Linked DNA regions of Homo sapiens: all the other regions are linked to region 3. The links are contacts of gene promoters, found by promoter capture Hi-C in blood cells and fetal thymus (Javierre and others, 2016). All regions are on one chromosome and are shown on one strand. Each heading gives the region's core, a stretch centred on a gene start or on the middle of the fragment in contact. The rest is flanking DNA. Distances are from core to core; before and after follow the strand shown. Region 1 overlaps ACAA2 (acetyl-CoA acyltransferase 2). Region 2 overlaps LINC02837 (long intergenic non-protein coding RNA 2837). Region 3 holds the start of SKA1 (spindle and kinetochore associated complex subunit 1).

Region 1 (3,887 bases), core at 83-2,582, 560 kb after region 3:
GCCAAGTGGAGATGCCAGCTAAGCATTGGTTAGGGGGATCTGAAAGTGAGAAGAACCAAAGTGGCATGGGAACAAATCAAGGGAAAAATCCGTATTCTGGGACCAAATGCAGTGTTTACAGTTTCCTGCAACGTGGATTTCATTTGCCAGTGCCCTTCCTGACTGAATTTACTACATTTACTTCATAAAGCAGCGTGGTGAATTTTTTTTAGACGAGGCATTTACACTTCATTTAAAAGGTGCATTGTCATGAGCTATCTTCTAAAAAAGGAAATAATATTTTTACTGATATCATTTTAATATTTTATCAGTGGTTCTTACCCTTTCTTATAATACAGACCTGTTTGAAAATTTCACAAATACTATAAACCCAAAAAGGAAAAAAATGCACATTGACACCTGTATTAAGGAAGTATAAAGTTTATAAATTTCTGGTACAATTTACTGTAGTGTTAGAGCTAGTGATCGTATTTTTTTCCATTTCCTTATTGTAGCAATTAGGAGGACACTCATGTCGAGAGAGGTAAAGTGGTTGTGTATAATAACACAGGTAGTTAGTGGCTGTGACTAGAACCCAAGCTTTGAGCTTGAAATAGTGATGTTACAGGCCAGCTAGAATCATTAAAGATAAACTTCTCTCAAGCAGCATACCAAGTGTTTGCAGGATGGGTGGGAAGAAAGAAGAGCATGTGACTGATTATAGGGAAAAGGACACATTTGAGTTAAATTTTGTTAAGGATTAACATTAATTTGTCAGATTTCAGTCAACAAGAAGAACCGGCTCCTAGGTTTTTATTAGCACCCATCCCAGTACTTGGCAGGAGGTTTTCGCTCGACAGATCATAGCTCTCCTACTGCTCCTAGCTTTGTTGGGAATGTTTGTGTATTTTTTCAAGGCAAGTAGACAGGGCTGCTAAATTACCTTAATCTTGAAACAACTGGATGCCACCGCAGCTTTCCTTAATTTGCCCTCGTTGCTGCCTGAAGTTGCTCTAAGTGAATATTTACCTAACAATGTGATAGAAAGGTAGTGCTCCTGTTTCTTTCCTAGTGGTGCTTTTCCTGTATTGTCAACTCAGCACATCTTTCCAGGGCCTTTCTTGGAGCTACTTGGACTCACTACACTCTGGGTTAATAGGTCTCTTCACTGTCTTTCAGTTTTGGGAAATTTTTAGCCTCTGAATTTTCAGGGTGTTCAAATGAGATTTCAGTTTGGTGTTAAAGATTGTTAAGTTTTAGACCTTTTAGTATCCACGTAAAATTGACATCAAATGAAAATTGACATGGTATACAATTTATGAAATTAAAAAAAAAAAACTTTAAACCTTTATAGTCTATCTGCACATCCCAGATTATTTGTTAAAATGAAGATTTAAAATAATAATAACAAATTATTTTTTAAAATAGAGAAACCCAGTCTCTACAAAAAATACAAAAATTAGCCAAGCATGGTGGCACTCGCCTGTAGTCCCAGCTACTCGGGAGGCTGTGGTGGAGGATTGCTTGAGCCCAGGAGGTTGAGGCTGCAGTGAGCCAAGATCACACTACCGCACTTCAGCCTGGGTGACAGAGTGAAACCCTGCCTCCAAACAAACAAACAAAAAAAACCCAAACCAAAAATATATGATTGAGAACATTTTCTCTGTTCAAAATAATTGTTTTAGTTCAGTTAAGGTCTTACTTGAGCTAACCTTTACAGTCTGGGAGCATCAAATAAGAAGTAATATAGGTAAAGGGGAGGTTTTTTTTTGTTTTTATTTTCCCATGCACACCCTTTCCTTTGTAGATATTGCATATTTCACTACTAGCACTGCCCTATCAAATGCTTTCTTAGAATATGAGACATAGGGGAGAAGTTCATAAAAGGAACTTTGTAGAGAGACAAATGAAATTAGGCTCTATTGTTTCTGAGAAGTGAGGGGTCATTTCCATGTGTGCAATATGTCATTTTTATTTCTGGATGCTTTATATATTTTTGTTATCTTTGGATTTCAAAAGTTTGACAATGATGTGCCAAGCTGCAGGAGAACGGGGTGTGGAGTGTTACGTGTGGTGTTTATTAGAGTTGAGGTTTACCAAGCTTTAATATACAAATTTATGTTTTTTATCAAATTTGGAAATTTCTTCTTTATTATTTCTGCAAATGTTTTTTTAAATCCATTCTCTGTCCTCTCCTATGACTGTAACTTGTTAGTCCTTGAGGTTCTGCCCGTGTTTTTTTACTATCCGACTTTAAAGAAAAAATTTACAAACTTTGTTTTTGAGCAGATTTAGGTTTTACAAAAAAATTGAGCAGAAAGTACGGAGTATTACCATGTGCTCCCTTGCCCGGTCCGTTTCCCCTATTATTAACATTTTGCATTAGTGTGGTACATTTGTTACAATTGATGAGCTAACATTGATATATTATTATTCACTGAAGTTCATATTTTGCATTCAAGTTCATTCATTGTATTGTATAGTTCTATGGGTTTTGACAAATGTGCAAATGACCGATGTCAGTATTATAGTGTCATGCAGATTAATTTCACCACCCTAAACATCATCTGTGATTCACTTATTTATCCCTGTCTCTGAACCCCTGGCAAGCACTGATCTTTTTACTGTCTCCATAGCTTTGCCTTTTCCAGATATCATGTAGTTGGAATCATACAGTATATGGCCTTTCCAGACTGGCTTCTTTCACTTAGCGACATGCATTTAAGATTCCTTCCTTTTATGGCTTGATAGCTCACTTCTTTTTATTGCTGAATAATATTCCATTGTATGGCTGCACCACAGTTTGTTTATCCATTCACCTGTTGAAGGACATTGTTGTGGGAAGTCAGGGACCCTGAATGGAGGGACCGGCTAGAGCTGTGGCAGAGGAACATAAATTGTGAAGATTTCATGGACATTTATCACTTCCCTAATAATACTCTTAACGCCTGTCTTACTTTAATCTCTTAATCCCGTTATCTTCGTAAGCTGAGGATGTACGTCACCTCAGGTCCACTGTGATGATTGTGTTAACTGTACAAATTGATTGTAAAACGTGTGTTTGAGCAATATGAAATCAGTGCACCTTGAACAGAATAACAGCGATTTTTAGGGAACAAGGGAAGATAACCATAAGGTCTTTACTGCCTGCGGGGTCGGGCAGTAGGAGCCATATTTTTCTTCTTGCAGAGAGCCTATAAACGGATATGCAAGTAGGAGAGATATCACTAAATTCTTTTCCTAGCAAGGAATGTTAAGACCCTAGGAAAAGAATTGTATTCCTGGGGGGAGGTCTATAAATGGCCGCTCTGGGAGTGTCTGTCTTATGCGGTTGAGATAAGGACTGAAATACCCCCTGGTCTCCTGCAGTACCCTCAGGCTTATTAGGGTGGGGAAAAAACGCTTCTTGGTAAATTTGAGGTCAGACCAGTTCTCTGCTATTGAACACTGTTTTCTGTTGTTTAAGATGTTTATCAAGACAATATGTGCACAGCTGAACATAGGCCCTTATCAGGAGTTTTTGATTTTGCCCTTTGCCTTGTGATCTTTGCTTTGTCCTTTGCCTTGTGATCTTTATTGGCCTCAGAAGCATGTGATCTTTGTTCTCCTTTTTGCCCTTTGAAGCATATGATCTTTGTGACCTACTCCCTGTTCGTACACCTGCTCCCCTTTTGAAATCCTTAATAAAAACCTGCTGGTTTTGTGGTTCAGGTGGGCATCCTGGACCTACCGATATGTGATGTCACCCCCGGCGGCCCAGCTGTAAAATTCCTCTCTTTGTACTCTTTCTGTTTCTCAGACCGGCCGACACTTAAGGAAAATAGAACCTACACTGAAATATTGGGGGGCGGGTTCCCATGATAGGACATCGTGGTTGCCTTCAAGTTTTAACAATTAGGAATAAACAT
Region 2 (3,834 bases), core at 52-2,551, 870 kb after region 3:
TTGCTCTGGCTAGGACTTCCAGTATTATGTTGTAATTCAAGAAATATTTGTTGAGAACTTATCATAAACAAAAAAATTATTCTAGGCACTAGAGGAAAAAAAAACAGACAAGAACTATGTCTTCTGCCAGGCACAGTTGCTCATGCCTGTAATCCCAGCACTTTGGAAGGTCGAGGTGGGCGGATCACCTGAGCTCAGGAGTTCGAGACCAGCCTGGCCAAAATGGCGAAACCCCCTCTCTACTAAAAATACAAAAATTAGCCGTGGTGGCATGCGCCGGTAATCCCAGCTACTGGGGAACCTGAGGCAGGAGAATCATCGAAACCCGGGAGTCGGAGGTTGCAGTGGGCCAAGATCACGCCACTATACTCCAGCCTGGGCGACAGAGCAAGGCTCTGTCTCAGAAAAAAAAAAAAAAAAAAAAAAGAACCATGTCTTCATGAAGCTTACATTTTTTGAAAAGGAGATAGAAATTTAAGAAGAAAACTAATAAATGTGATAATTTCATTCAGTGAGATATGTTGTGAAGACAATAAAACAAGATTATGTCAGAGAGGAGCTCCATAGACTGAGTGTCAGGGAAGGAGTTAAGGCTTCAGTGACTGGAAGAAGCCAACACGTGAAGACCTAGTTGTAAATCATTGGAAGGAAGGGCAAAAGCAAAGGCATCAAGACAGGAATGAGTTGACTGTATCCCTGAAGCAGCAAGGAGCCAATGTGGCTGGAGCAAAGTCAGTGCAGAGGAAAAGTATAGGAAATGAGGGCCTGGAGCTAGATCAGCCTGCACAGCACAGTAAGCAGTTTGGACTTTATTGGGTGTGAAATGTGAAGTCTTTCAAGGGTTTTAACCTGGGAAGTGCTTTGGAGAGAAGTGGGGAGTGTTATATTATATAGTTTATATTTTTTAAAGATTACATTTTCTGGTTATAGTTATCATAGTTCTAGAAACTGTATTTTAGGACAACCAAATCACCCCAGTTAATAAGAGAAAGCTCTTTTTACAAAGAATGCCAAGCTATTCAGATTAAAGAAAAATAAAGAGACATGGCAACCAAACACAATGCCTTATTCTGAATTTGGCTCTTCGTCCAAAAAAAATTCTATAAAAGATATTGTTGGGAAAATTGGCGGCAATTAAATATGGTCTCTAGGTTAGATAATATTATTATAGTAAATGTTAAATTTTCTGATTCTAAAACTGATTATGAAAGAGAACAACCTGGCCAGGCACGGTGGCTCATGCCTGTAATCCCAACACTTTGGAAAGCCGAGACGGGCAGATCACCTGAGGTCAGGAGTTCAAGACCAACCTGGCCAACATAGTGAAACCCAGTCTGTACTAAAAATACAAAAATTAGCCAGGCGTGATGGTGGGCGACTGTAATCCCAGCTACTCAGGAGGCTGAGGCAGGAGAATCACTTGAACCCCGGAGGCAGAGGTTGCAGTGAGCCGAGATCGCGCCAATACACTCTAGCTTGGGTGACAGCAAGCCTCTGTCTCAAAAATAAAATAAAAAGAAACAACAACCAGATGTCATGTGGGACCTAGATTGGGTCTTGCTTTGTTTCTGGTTTTTTTGTGTGTGTGTGGCTGCTTTGGTTGGTTGGTTTGTTTGTTTGTTTGTTTGTTTGAGACAGAGCCTTGCTCTGTCACCCAGGCTGGAGTGTAGTGACATGATCTCAACTCACTGCAACCTCTGTCTCCCAGCTTCAAGCAATTCACATGCCTCAGCCTCCAGAGTAGCTGGGACTACAGGTGTGTGCCACCACACCCTGCTAATTTTTTCTATTTTTAGTAGAGACAGGGATTCACCATGTTGGCCAAGCTGGTTTCGAACTCCTGGCCTCAAGTGATCTGCCTGCCTCAGCTTCCCAAAGTGCTGGGATTACAGGTGTGAGTCAGTGTGCCTGGCGGGTCTTGCTTTGAACAAACCAACTGGAAAGGACATTTGGGGAACAACTGGGATAACTGAAATTGAGGTTAGGTATTAGAAGAGATGAAAATGTATCAACATGGTAAAATTGAGATTAACTGGAAAAAAATCTGATTATGAAATAGCATGTACAGTATAATTTCACCTGGTAAGTATATATGTATATACATACACACATGAAGTATATATCTCACACTATACTAGAAGGATATATTAAAGCTTAATCTTTTGGAAATATAAGGATTTTATTTTCTTAATCTGCTTACCTGCTATATCTGACTTTCTATAAAACACATATAAATAATCTTAAATTTTTGAATAATTTTAAAATTTTACTTATTATTTATTTATTTATTGAGATGGAGTCACTCTGTCACCCAGGCTGGAGTGCAATGGTGCGATCTTGGCTCACTGCAACATCTGCCTCCCGGGTTCAAGAGATTCTCCTGCCTCAGCCTCCCGAGTACCTGGGATTACAGGCACGCACCACCATGCCCGGCTAATTTTTTCTTTTCTTTTCTTTTTTCTTTTTCTTTTTTTTTTTTGAGACAGAGACTCGCTCTGTCACCCAGACTGGAGTGCAGTGGTGCGATCTCGGCTCACTGCAACCTCCGCCTCCCAGGTTCAAGCCATGCTCCTGCCTCAGCCTCCCAAGTAGCTGGGACTACAGGCGTGTGCCACCATGCCCGGCTAATTTTTTGTATTTTTAGTAGAGAGAGATGGGGTTTCACCGTGTTAGCCAAGATAATCTCCATCTCCTGACCTCGTGATCCACCTGCCTTGGCCTCCCAAAGTGCTGGGATTACAGGCGTAAGGCATCTTGCCTGGCAACTTTTTCTATTTTTAGTAAAGACAGGGTTTCACCATGTTGGCCGGGCTGATCTTAACTCCTGGCCTCAAGTGATCTGCCACCCCGGCCTCCCAAAGTGCTGGGGATACAAGCGTGAGCCACCGCACCTGGCCAATTTTAAATTTTTTAATAAATAAATTGCTCTGGCTGTTCTAGATGGATTACAGGGGCAATCAAGAGTGGAAGTAGGTTGTCTAGTTGATCAGCAATATGCTTTTCAGTATCTGTTTCCCAAGTCTAGGTGGAAGCCAGATTCTTGCTGGAAATGAAGCTTCTCCTTCATGGGAATCCCACATACATGGCCAAAGAGATCTTACGTCTGGGAGCACAAACTGGGTATGTTAAAGGGCTTGATATTCTCCAGGGTATTTTGTTGTCCAACAAAGCTGGGTAGAGATTTGCACAGGTCCACGGAGCTGCTCAGCAAAGGGAGGGTCTGGAGGAGTGCTATCCAGCAGACTAAAGGCAAGGCACCAGCCCTCTTTGAAGTTATACACTGGTCCAGCCAGGGAAATCACAAGCACACACACATACCCAACATCAGTTAATGACAAGATAAGAAAGAAAATGTACTTTTAAATTTGATCTTAAAACAATTCACAACTCTTAAAAATTATGCAGAATAAGCCAGGCGTGGTGGCTCACGCCTGTAATCCCAGCACTTTGGGAGGCTGAGGCAGGTGGATCACAAGGTCAGGAGTTCGAGACCAGCCTGGCCAATATGATGAAACCTCGTCTCTACTAAAAATACAAAACTTAGCTGGGCGTGGTAGCACGTGCCTGTAGTCCCAGCTGCTCAGGAGACTGAGGAAGGAGAATTGCTTGAACCCAGGAGGCAGAGGTTGCAGTGAGCTGAGATGGCGCCACTGCACTCCAGCCTGGGCAACACAGCGAGACTCTGTCTCAAAAAATAAATACATAAACAAATAATAAATAAAATTATGCAGAATAAGTAGAGCTATAGTAATAAAAAGCAAACTTTGCAGCTTCAGGAATTAAAGTGTCTCACAAATGGAATGAAATCCCTTAGGAAAGCCTAGTGAAGAAAAA
Region 3 (4,052 bases), core at 1,155-3,654:
CCTCCAAAGCAGGCTCTAAGATGGGTTATGAACTACTTTTACCCCTATGGAGCTCTACATCAGTTTTTTTAACTTGCCTTTTAATAATGTGCCACATAACAGTGATTCAGTCAACAATGGACCATAAATATGACAGTGGCCCCATAAGATTATAACGGAGCTGAAACATTCCTATTGCCTTGTGACATCGGAGCCATCATAACATCATGGTACAATGCATTATTCACATGTTTGTGGTGATGCTGGTGTAAACAAACTCTAATGCCAGTATTACAAAAGTACAGCACATACAATTATGTATAGTACATAATAATTGATAATAAATGGTTACTAGTTTATGTTATTTACTATACAATACTTTGTATTGTTATTTTAGAGTGTACTCCTTCTACCTATTAAAAAAAAAAAGTTAACTGTAAAACAGCCTCAGGCAGATCCCTCAGGAGATATTCCAGAAGGCATTGTTATCACAGATGACTGCTCCATGTGTGGTACTGCCCCGATGACCTTCTAGTGGAACAAGATGTGAATGTGGAAGACAGATGTTGATGATCCTGACCCTGCATAGGCCTAGGCTAATGTGTGTGTGTGTGTGTATTCGTTTTTGACAAAAAAATTTTAAAAAGTTAAAAAAAAATAGAAAAAAAGCTCATAAAGATATAAAAATATTTTTGTACACCTGTACAATGTATTTGTTTTAAGCTATTAGAAAAGAATAAAAAAGCTAAGCCAAACTAAGAAGTTTATTAAGTAAAAAAGTTATAGTAAGCTAAGGTTAATGTATTATTGAAGAAAGTTTTTCATTTTTTATAAATTTAGTGTAGCATAAGTGTATAGTACTTATAAAGCCTACAGTAGTATACAGTGATGTCCTAGGCCCTCACAGTCACTGTCTCACCCACAGCAACTTCCAGTTCTGCAAGCTCCATCAATGGTAAGTGGCCTATACAGGTGTTCCATTTTTAATCTTTTACTGTATCTTTTCTATGTTTAGATACACAAATACTCACCATTGTGTTACACTTGCCTAAGGTATTCAGTACAGTCACATGCTATACGGGTTTGTTGCCTAGGAGCAATAGGCTATATAGCCTAGATATGTAGTAGGCTATACCATCTAGGTTTGTGTACATTTACGTACATTCTATGATGTGATGTTTGCACAACGACAAAATCATGTAACGCTTTTGTCAGAACACATCTCCATCATTAAGGAACGCATGACTGTATCTCTATTTAGCTGTAGAACCATGGATGCCACATAACCTTCAAATCTCACCATTGGCCTATGTGTCTCAGAAAAACATAAGTAAATAATTCTAATGAATATTCAGTTCATTGTTCAATGTACCTTACATTTTTAGTATCCTCCACAATATTCAAAATGACATTGGACTATTTAAAAAATCGTTATGCAAAAATCTAAAATTACCTAAGATGCAGTCACTTAACCAAGCAAAGATATCATTCAGAGTGGAATAATCAAAATGCATTTTGTATATACAAAGTCAGTGGAATCTGTTTTACTTACCACAGTTTCTTAATGATAAGGTTTTCTTAATATTGCCAATCTTTTCATTAACATGAGAGCATAATTGTTCCAGATCTGACGAGGCCATCCTTTAAGCCTCTGAAGAAAAAAACATAAACATATTCGTAACAAGAAAAGCCACACAAATTTCTGTTCACTTTCGAAATCCAAGAATGGTCAATGTCAAGTAAATCACATGTCTTTGAAGGTTAAGCACAAAAATTCAAGAGCAATTTCTTTCATTTCTACAACATTCAGTTTCTAACCACGGTACCGTACTGACTTGTCTTAGAGCCTTAGGCCATCGATGGATCCCAAACCAGGGGAAAGAGGATAAGCCTGGGTCCTTTCCTTAAGGATTCAGGAGGACAAACGCACTATTTGTATATAAAGACAACATTGGTATTTTCTTTAAACACGCAAAATAAGGACACATTTTTTAAAAATGTGTTACACTGTCAAAGAAATGGGCCCAGGTAATCATTTTTCCTGTGCTGTGAGGGGTTGGGGCTTTACAGTTTGGGATCGGTAAGGAGGCCGAGAAATGGGAAAGAACCAGTTTCCCACCCACTCCGCCGGTGAGAGAGAAGGGGAGGGTCTAAAGCATCCAACCCAGCCTCCAGCCCCGTCCTCCCCCAAGCCCGGCGCGGTCCGCGGCCCCCAGCTGCCAAGCAGCTACCTCGGGCGCTTCCAAAGGCAGGGTCCCCAACACACAGACTCCAACCTCAAGTCCGTCCGGGAGCAAAAGGCTACTCGCCGCTGGGTCTCCAGCTGCGGATACCGCAGTCTCCGTTGGAAGCCCAGGATGGTGAGACGGGACTCTGTAAGCAAAATTCAAACCGCCCGCCGCGCCCTAGCGCAGCGCAGGCGCACATCCATGCTTCCGAAGCGCAGGCTCAGCCGCTGTTCCCGGTTTGCGTCATCCGGGGCCACAGCTGGGCGGGAAGGAGGGGTGGCCGAGCCGGGGAAAGGCGGGGCGACGGCGAAGGCGGGGCTTCCGGACGAAAGGGTAACCCGGAGGTGCTCTTTCCGCGCTAACCAGTCTGGGGAGATTTCAGCAGGTCATGCAGTCTTGACCGCAGCCCAGCCAGGGACCTGGCGTCACCAAGTCCTGGTCTTTGACATTTGCTGCACCTTAGAGTCACCAGGGGCAGCTATTACAAGTCTCAGTGCCTAGAGTACACCCCAAGTCGGTGAAATCAGACACTGGGGAAATGAGGCACAAGCCTTAGTATTTATAAAAACACCCCAGAAAATTCCAAAGAGCAGCTAAGTTTGTGTGGAAGAAACAGTGACCCTGTCTTCTGGGTCTTAGACAGCCTCTGTAAGTGTTCCCGGGCCAAACCAGGGGTTGGGCTGCTTATTCTCATGATGAACTGGGAAAGAAGAGTTTATTTCGGTAACCGGGTACAGGGAAAAGGCCTGGAAAATATCGCCAAATCGATTCAAAATTACAAAGTTTTCCAGAGCTTATATACCTTCTAAACTATCTGTCTACATGTAAGTGTGCATGTGTGTAAAGACGTAAATGATTAACTGTTTCTAATCTATAACTAAGATCAGTCCTAAGGAAGGTCTTTATTTAAGTAAATTTACTTAATCTAGATGGCTGCAGGTGCCAGAGGTGATTACCCTTATCTTGTCTCCTGCTAAATCATGAAGGTTTGGGCAGTTCCTTCAGACCCCCGATAAACTTGTTTGTGGAGGTCTGGGGGAGTTTCTTCAGACCCCCAATAAAAACTTGTTTAATCTTGAACAGGTCCTGTTAAGAATTCCTTCTTTATTTTCTCATGCTTCAAGGACCAGGAAAGGCCTGGGCAAAACTCTTGGTGGGCTTTTGTTACATACCAGCCTTTCTATAAAGACACTGGCTCTTTCAGCTTTTAATATTTAACTTAACTAGTGCTGAAACAGTGGTTACGGAGGCCTGTCTGTTCAGCTGTTAGTGAGACCTGGCCTGCCACTTAAGAGCAAATATAAATTTAAAATAAGAAAAACAAAAGTTTAATTCTCCCTGTTGAAAAGGAGGGAAAAGCACCCAAGGCTGGAGTGGTGGCACCGCCAGGTTCTGTCCATCCCTTGGCTCCACTGCGCTATTATTATGCACTTGGACCTTCAGGCTGCCAGCCCCTGTCCTCAGGTCTTTCTCCCAGGCAGCAGAAACGAGCAAGAGGCATGTGTAATAGGCTTAACTGCCAACAGAACCAGCACTTTGAGAGCGTTGTGCTGGAAGCCACACCCAGTGGCTTCCATCTGCTTCTCACTGGTCACTCCCATCTGCGAAGGAGACTGAAAAAAATCTTTTGTAAAAAATGTAATCTGGACAGTTACTTTCACTCATGTCCGTATGAAGAGACCACCAAACTGGCCTTTGTGTGAGCAACAAGGCTGTTTATTTCACCTGAGTGCAGGCGGGCTGAGTCCGAAAAGACAGTCAGCTAAGGGAGATAGGGGTGGGGTCGTTTTATAAGATTTGGGTAGGTAAAGGAAAATTACAGTCAAAGGGGGTTGTTCTCTGGCA

The links. Contacts are between HindIII fragments. The CHiCAGO score rates a contact against its expected background, and 5 or more counts as called.
Region 1: a fragment that was not itself captured here is called in contact with the fragment with the promoter of SKA1 in region 3 in 3 of 17 cell types (naive CD8 T cells, monocytes and total CD8 T cells); the score reaches 6.9 in naive CD8 T cells.
Region 2: a fragment that was not itself captured here is called in contact with the fragment with the promoter of SKA1 in region 3 in 15 of 17 cell types (naive CD4 T cells, non-activated CD4 T cells, total CD4 T cells and 12 more); the score reaches 14.0 in naive CD4 T cells.

The regions. Positions count from the first base shown.
Region 1 is chr18:49,808,405-49,812,291 of GRCh38, reverse strand. The region is part of intron 1 of ACAA2 (acetyl-CoA acyltransferase 2); the gene reads left to right. Among named protein-coding and RNA genes, the nearest start is that of ACAA2, 3.2 kb to the left of the region's middle. The HindIII fragment of the contact is 1,501 bases long and covers 582-2,082 here.
Region 2 is chr18:49,500,923-49,504,756 of GRCh38, reverse strand. All of the region lies in intron 2 of LINC02837 (long intergenic non-protein coding RNA 2837), which reads right to left. Among named protein-coding and RNA genes, the nearest start is that of LINC02837, 3.5 kb to the right of the region's middle. The HindIII fragment of the contact is 1,708 bases long and covers 448-2,155 here.
Region 3 is chr18:50,373,398-50,377,449 of GRCh38, reverse strand. It overlaps SKA1 (spindle and kinetochore associated complex subunit 1), which reads right to left and starts at 2,404. Exons shown (of 7, transcript NM_145060.4): 1 at 2,256-2,404; 2 at 1,532-1,630. The coding sequence starts at 1,619. LOC105372114 (a long non-coding RNA gene) reads left to right here and starts at 2,572. Exons shown (of 3, transcript XR_935466.3): 1 at 2,572-2,855. RefSeq lists a silencer at 3,617-3,911. The HindIII fragment of the contact is 8,258 bases long and covers 1-4,052 here.